Regions from separate parts of the Homo sapiens genome. Here region 1 is linked to region 2. The links are contacts of gene promoters, found by promoter capture Hi-C in human tissues and cell types (Jung and others, 2019). All regions are on one chromosome and are shown on one strand. Each heading gives the region's core, a stretch centred on a gene start or on the middle of the fragment in contact. The rest is flanking DNA. Distances are from core to core; before and after follow the strand shown.

Region 1 (3,357 bases), core at 248-2,747, 230 kb after region 2:
AGATGTCAAGGGGATTTTAAAAGGGAATTAATGACTTCAATACCTACTTACAGGAGGTGTGGAGCTGGTGCTCCATAAGTATTTTTTTAATCACCGAATAATGTTGAAAATCATTCTTTTCAACTATCATCTATTCAGCAAATATTTGTTGACTACCTCTTATATACCACATGCTGAGTGAACAAAGTAGGCACAGTCCCTGCCCTGGCAGAGTGGGAATTAAGAAGGGGCAGCAGTTAAGAAAACAGACCATTGTTATTGCTGTAACAATGAGCTATTACACTGTTGATGTAACCCTTGTAATGCAGTGTGATGAATGTCATAACAGGGTCAGCATAGGAACCTGCGAGAGCACAGGGTAGGGGTACCTAGCCAGAGGTAGTGTGGGGCGGGGGAATCAGGAAAGGCTTCCCAGAGGAGGCAACAAGTAAGCTGAGACCTGAAGGAGAAGCAAGAATTGGCCAGGCAAAGGGAGGGCTGGATTATCATCTAGAGAACAACACATGCAAAGGTCTAGAGGCCAAAGAAAGCTTGGTGCACTTCTTTAGGGAAGTCATAGATCAGTCTTGCTGTTTCTACCTGCTGCAGGCAGCCAGGAGAAGCCATACTGAAGTGCATTAATTCCTTTTGAAAATCCCCTTGACATCTCCTTAAATGCATTTGTAGTAAAACATTAGGGCAATAAGGTGACCAGCCCAAAGTCACACAGTCAGGATCTGGCCACGCCAAATTGGAACCTGAGAGGCCAAAGAAAGCTTGGTGCACTTCTTTAGGGAAGCCATAGATCAGTCTTAACTGATTTTAGCTGCTGCAGGCAGCCAGGAGAAGCCATGCTGAAATCAACATACATAGCCAGGACCTCGACATCCCTTTCATCTTTTATCACCAGTTTGTCTTTGCATTTACTTACTTAATGTTGGCACTTTTGTACATGGCCATCTCCTCCTCCCTGTCGATCCAAATAGTGCAGCTTCCCTCTAGCTCCTTGTCTCTAGAGGTGAGCAAATACTTACCTCCAGTAATGCTGGGATTAGAACCCAGATGGGACAGTCTGCTGAGCTCTTGTTGTCACAAGCAGACGATCATCGCGTGGCTTGCTGCGCTGTCCCAGGCTGGCTGAGCTCCCTGAGTTGCTGCCCTGCCAGGGACAGCCTGAGTGATCACCCCTGAGATGATTAATTCCTGCCTCCCATGGCCGGCCCTGGGTCTGCAGCCAAGTGCTGCTGTCATCTCTTTATTTTTCTGCTCTACTGTTATTGAAAATCAATAAGGCATCCAAGCTGAATGAAGTTTAGTGACTGGGACTGAGTCCATAAATCAAATAAAAACTAAATTATATTTAAAAAGGGAAAAAGGACTAAGAAGGCTGCTTTGGGGTGGAGTGCAGTCCCTGAGAGTTGGATATCACGGAGGCAAAGAGATGAGCAAGAAATGGATACTACCTGGTTGGTGGGTGGGCTGTATCAGGACTGGAAGTACTTCCGGGAACAGCTTATCCAGTCCCCTATTTTCCAGGTCAGAAGACTGAAGTTCAGAGGGGACTGAAGTCACACAGTGAGAGGCAGACCTGGCCCCAGACCCAGGCCCTGGGCCTCCTCTGCACCCACAGTTACTCTCCTTCTACCAACCGGCCTCAAATCAATTAGAAACAACAGCTGAAGTGAAGTGAATTCTAGAGGAAACCCAAGGAAGAGGTTTTAGATTTTTATGTTGTCAAATGTATCACTCTTTTACTTTACAGTTTCTGCATTTAATGTGGTGCTTTAAAATCCTAAACAAATATGTCTGTTTCCAGCCAAGGAGTCTCCAGAATAGTTCCTGGAGCTCACACAGAGCTGAGAATTTTTCATGTTCTCCCCAACTCAAGTGGAAAGACCTCCTACCACGCGGGATACTGAGTAGGATTCTCAGCCTTATTAGTGAGGCCAAATTAACCCTACCCTAAAAGCTGCTCTGTCACCCTCAAAAGGATACAATTGATTCATGCTCCAGAACAAAGTCCAATGGTATTTAAAGGGATATAATAAAATTCAGCAACCAACAAGGTAAAATTTGCAATATCCAGCACCGAAGTGCTCCCTTGGGCAGCAAGCACAGAAATAGGAAAATGTGGGTTACAACCGGATGGAAAACTAATTAGTAGAAACAAACCAATAAGTAATAGAAATTATAGAATTAGAAGACAAGAACATTAAAACAGCTATTATGACTCACAGGGTCAAGAAGGTAGAGGAAAATGACCAGGATGAAGAGTGAAATGGAAGTTTGTAAAATTTAAGCTCCAAATGGAATTTCTTGAAGTGAAAAATATAATATCTGAAATGAAACACATACACACAGATGGTAGTAATATGAGATTAGATTCTGAAGAAGGAAAAATCAGTGAACTTGAAGCTATAGCCTTAGAAACTATCCACAATGAAATATATGCTTACCATAGAGCAATCATACTACTGGGCCAAGAGAAATGAAATCATGTTCACAAGAGGACTTGAATATTTATAGCTTTGTTCATAATGACGAAGAGCTAAAAATAAGCTAAACATCTGTGAACTGATGAAGAGATACGTAAGATGTGATATATCCATTCTTTTTATTATTCAGCAATAAAAGGAATGAACTACTGATACTTGCAACAACGTGAGTGAATGTCAAAAGCATTATGTTGACTAAATTTACATGAAATTCTAGAAAAGGTAAAACTACAGTTATAGAAGGCAGATCAGTGGTTGCCTAGGGTGCAGAATGAGAGAGAGTAAATTGATTGCAAAGGGTGTAAGGGAACTTTCTGGGTTAGAAATATTTTTATTAAAGTTGTGAAGATGATTATATAACTGTGTACATTTGTGAAAACTCAGTGTGTGTATGCTGGGGGGAGTATGGGTGTAGTTATAAAAGGACAGCATGAGGGGTCCTTGTAGCGATAGAACTCTTCAGTATCTTGACTATGGTATAAATACACCAACCTACACATGTGATGACATTGTATAGAACTAAATATACACATACAAGTGAGTATCAGGGAAAACTACACAAGATCAGTGGGGTGTTATCAATGTCAATATCCAGGTTATGATGTTGTATTATCACAATCATTAGTGGATCATTAGTGCTACAACTAGGGGAAAACTGGTTAAGGGTATATAGGATCTCTCTGTAATATTTCTTACAACTGCATGTGTAAGACAATTTTTACAATTATCTCAAAAAAATTTCAGTGAAATTTTTCAGTGATAATTGTAATTTAATTACAATTATCTCAAAAAAATTTCAGTGAAACTAGATTGTAGAAATAAAATTGCTAAATTTTATTGTATGTAAATTATTATTTCTCAGCAAAGCTGATTTTTAAAAAGC
Region 2 (3,230 bases), core at 489-2,988:
AGCTGTGTAATATTGGGCGAGTCCCTTCCTTGCTCTGGACCTCAGTTTCCCACCTACAGCGTGAGCGGAGGGTGGAGGCTGGGATAAGGGGTGTCAGGAGTCAAAGCTCTTCGAAGTCCTAGACAGCTCTGACTCTGACTTTACTCCTTGGCAGCCAGAAGGACTGACTGGGTCCGTCTTCCTGGGGCAAGGCTGGGCCGGGCGCTCTCGCTCAGAGGGGACGTTCTGGAAGCAGCGGCGAAAGAGGTGGGGTCAGGAGGCCGCCGGTCCCAGGAAAAGGGCGCGGGAGGAGGCAGAAGCGGGAAGCAGCACGCCAGCCCCGACCCAGGGTCCTAGGCCGAAGCTGAAGTAGAGACTCAACACCAGAGCGGCGGGTGCCTCGGTTTCCCCGTGCGCACCGTGGCTCTGGAACCTCGGGAAGAGGCCAAGGGGCACCTTACCTTGTCCTTCTTGCCGGCCCCGCTCTCCTCCGCGGCTGAGGCGGCGCACTTGTTGAGCAGTTTCTTGCCTCCGCAGGCCGTCGGGCTCCAGGTGCGGCCGCCCGCGCAGGCGCCCCCCAGGGGGTCCCCGGCCCCACCGCCCGCGGCGCTCTCCACTTTGATGAGGCGGTGCTTGGGGGAGATGTAGCGCACCTCGGCCGGCGTGGCGGGCCGCCGCTCGCTGCTGCTGCGGTAGAGATGCGGAGAGCCGGAGGACGAGGACGAGGACGCGGCGGCCCCCGCGCCCGAGGAGGCGCAGCAACAGCCCGCGGCGCCCGACGCGGACGAGGCCGAGAAGGCGCGCTGGACCCCGCCTGGCTCCCCGCTGCCGCCGCAGTAGTCCAGGCGGCACATGGCGCGCAGTTTGCGCAGCGACGAGCCAGGCCCGTTGTAGGGGTCCTCGAAGTCTCGCTCCTTCTGCGCGCGGTAGGCGCGGATGAGGTCGCTGGTGCTGCCGCTGTCGTCGGGCAGCGAGCCCGAAGAGGCTGAGAAGCAGGAGGCGGTGGCCGGACCGCAGGACGCCGAGGCGGCGGAGGAGGCCTGCGGCACGGCCTGGGGGGGCTGCGAAGGCCGCTCGCCTCGGCGCCGCTGCTCGCGGTAGTCTGGCCGCGGCGGCTGCGGGGGGCTCTTGGTCTTGCTGTTGCCCAAGCTGAAGTACTTGTTTAGCCACTTGGCCATGGCGAGAGGCCGCCTAGGGCCGCGGCGCGGGAGCCCGGTCCGCCGCCGCGGCCATTCGGGGGGCAGCGCTGCGGCGCAGGTCCCTCGGCGCCCCGGCCCCGGCGGGGGGCGTCCGGGGCGCCCGCTCCCGACGCCAAGTTCAAGTTCTTGCCGCCGCCGCCTCCTGCCGGCAGCTCTCTGGCTCCGGCGGCTGCAACACCTCCCTCCGCCTAGCGCCGCCCAAGCTAGGAATCTCGCGCCCCTCGTGGGCGCGTCTCATGGGGTCCCGGCCCACGCCCGGGGGAGAGCGGAAGGTCCGAGCGCTCCACGCCGCGGACCCTTTGGCCGTACGCCCCTCGCCGTGGATCGCGCTCCTGCCCCGTCGGAGCCGCAGCCTCCGCCTTGGCCGGGATCCGCGGCTGCCGCGGGAACTTCTCGGCGTCCTCGGCTCCCTTCTTCCTTCCTGCGAGCGCTGGGGAGAGCTCGGCCCCGCAGCGGAGGAGAATGCGGCCGGGAGAGACAGCGAGCGACGGAGGAAGGCAGCCGGCGCCCGCCGGAGCCCGCGCGCCCGTGCCCGTCCCGGCGGCGCCTGTCGCTGCCACTGCCGCCGCCTCCCGAGCCGCCGCGTGTGTGACACTCAGGCCGCCAGAGCCCGCCCCGCGCCGCCGCCCCGCCCCCCCGGAGCCCGCTCGCGCGCCCCGCCCCCCGCCCGCTCCCGCAGACCCAGCACCGCCCATCCCCGCGAGCCTGGCCCCGGGCCGCGGCCCAAGCCCCGCCCCCCTCGCGCCCGGGGCCGGGGTGGGCGCACCTCTCCGCTCCTGCACACGCCACCTCCCGCGGCTGCCCTGGCGCCAGCACCAGGGTCTTGCCCCAGGGCGCTGGGGTCCCGCCGCGCAGCCGGCTCCACCTAGCTTGCAGCTCGCCGCCGCCTCGGGCGAGAGGTTGCCTGGCGGAGCCTGCTACGCGCAGAGGCCAAACCTTTCCGCAGTCCCCCGGGACCCCGCGCGTTGTTCACTCCAGGGATCCCCCTGTCGGGGTTGAGGAGGGAGAGTGGATTAACACGGAACCTGTCTAGTTTACAGCGTGGCCCGTGTGGAGGAAATGCAGTGCCTAGTGCCCTTAGGGACAGAGTGGCTGTCCCTCTTCCTTAAAGGGACAGACTCCGGTTCAGCCCCGTGCGCCAGGTCTTCGGAGGAATCTTTATGCTAATGAGTGTATTAGCAGTCCAGATGACGGATGTGGTCGGGATAGGCGGTGGGAGCCGGGCCCAGCACCAATCCGAGAGCAAGGCTAGGGGAGGTCGGAATGTTTGCTTACCTTTTCACCTCTGAGGAAGTCGAGGCTTTAGCCCTGTTCGCTGCCAGCCGGCGGGGAGCAAGTTGTGGGAACATTTAATGCCTTATGTTGTAGGAGCTGGCAAGGATCCATTTAATACAGGACCTCGGCCGGGTGCGGTGTCTCACGCCTGTAATCCCAGCACTTTGGGAGGCCGAGGCGGGTGGATCACGAGGTCAGGAGTTTAATACCAGCCTGGCCAAGATGGTGAAACCCCGTCTCTACTAAAAATACAAAAATTAGCCGGGTGTGGTGGCGGGTACCTGTAATCCCAGCAGCTACTCGGAAGGCTGAGGCAGAGAATTGCTTGAACCTGGGAGGCAGAGGTTGCAGTGAGCCGAGATCACACCACTTCACTCCAGCCTGGGCGACAGAGGGAGATTCCGTCTCAAAAAATAAATACAGGACCTCATTTTACAGATGGAGAAACTGAGGCCCAGAGGAAAGTCACACAGGTGGACTTGGATGCCAGTTCCTAAGTCGGGTGGCACCATAATTATGTCTTTTCCAAGAGTCTCTTCTTTGCGATTTCAGATCATCCTTTGATTATTAACCAAAATTGAGGAAACAGTCCCAGGGAGTGGCCTGATTTGGTCAGTGTAACTTTTCCTGGGATCTGCACCCAGGGGAGGTGGCATGCTCCCTGTTGAGAGGGAAATGCTGCCTAAAGATGAAGTAGCTGCCACTAGGGCCTGGTGCTGCTTTGAATTTGCCTGGGCAACCCTCAAAATGTGACTTAACTCTAAGATGTGGGCACCT

The links. Contacts are between HindIII fragments. The study calls those that stand out against the background at their distance.
Region 1: a contact is called between a fragment that was not itself captured here and the fragment with the promoter of SHB in region 2, in 3 of the 25 tissues and cell types used here (liver, lymphoblastoid cells and pancreas).

What each region holds. Positions count from the first base shown.
Region 1 is chr9:38,297,559-38,300,915 of GRCh38, forward strand. No RefSeq gene overlaps it. Among named protein-coding and RNA genes, the nearest start is that of ALDH1B1, 93 kb to the right of the region's middle. The HindIII fragment of the contact is 5,577 bases long and covers 1-3,357 here.
Region 2 is chr9:38,067,489-38,070,718 of GRCh38, forward strand. It overlaps SHB (SH2 domain containing adaptor protein B), which reads right to left and starts at 1,739. Exons shown (of 6, transcript NM_003028.3): 1 at 441-1,739. The coding sequence starts at 1,157. RefSeq lists an enhancer at 176-979 and silencers at 870-919, 1,340-2,149. The HindIII fragment of the contact is 6,868 bases long and covers 1-3,230 here.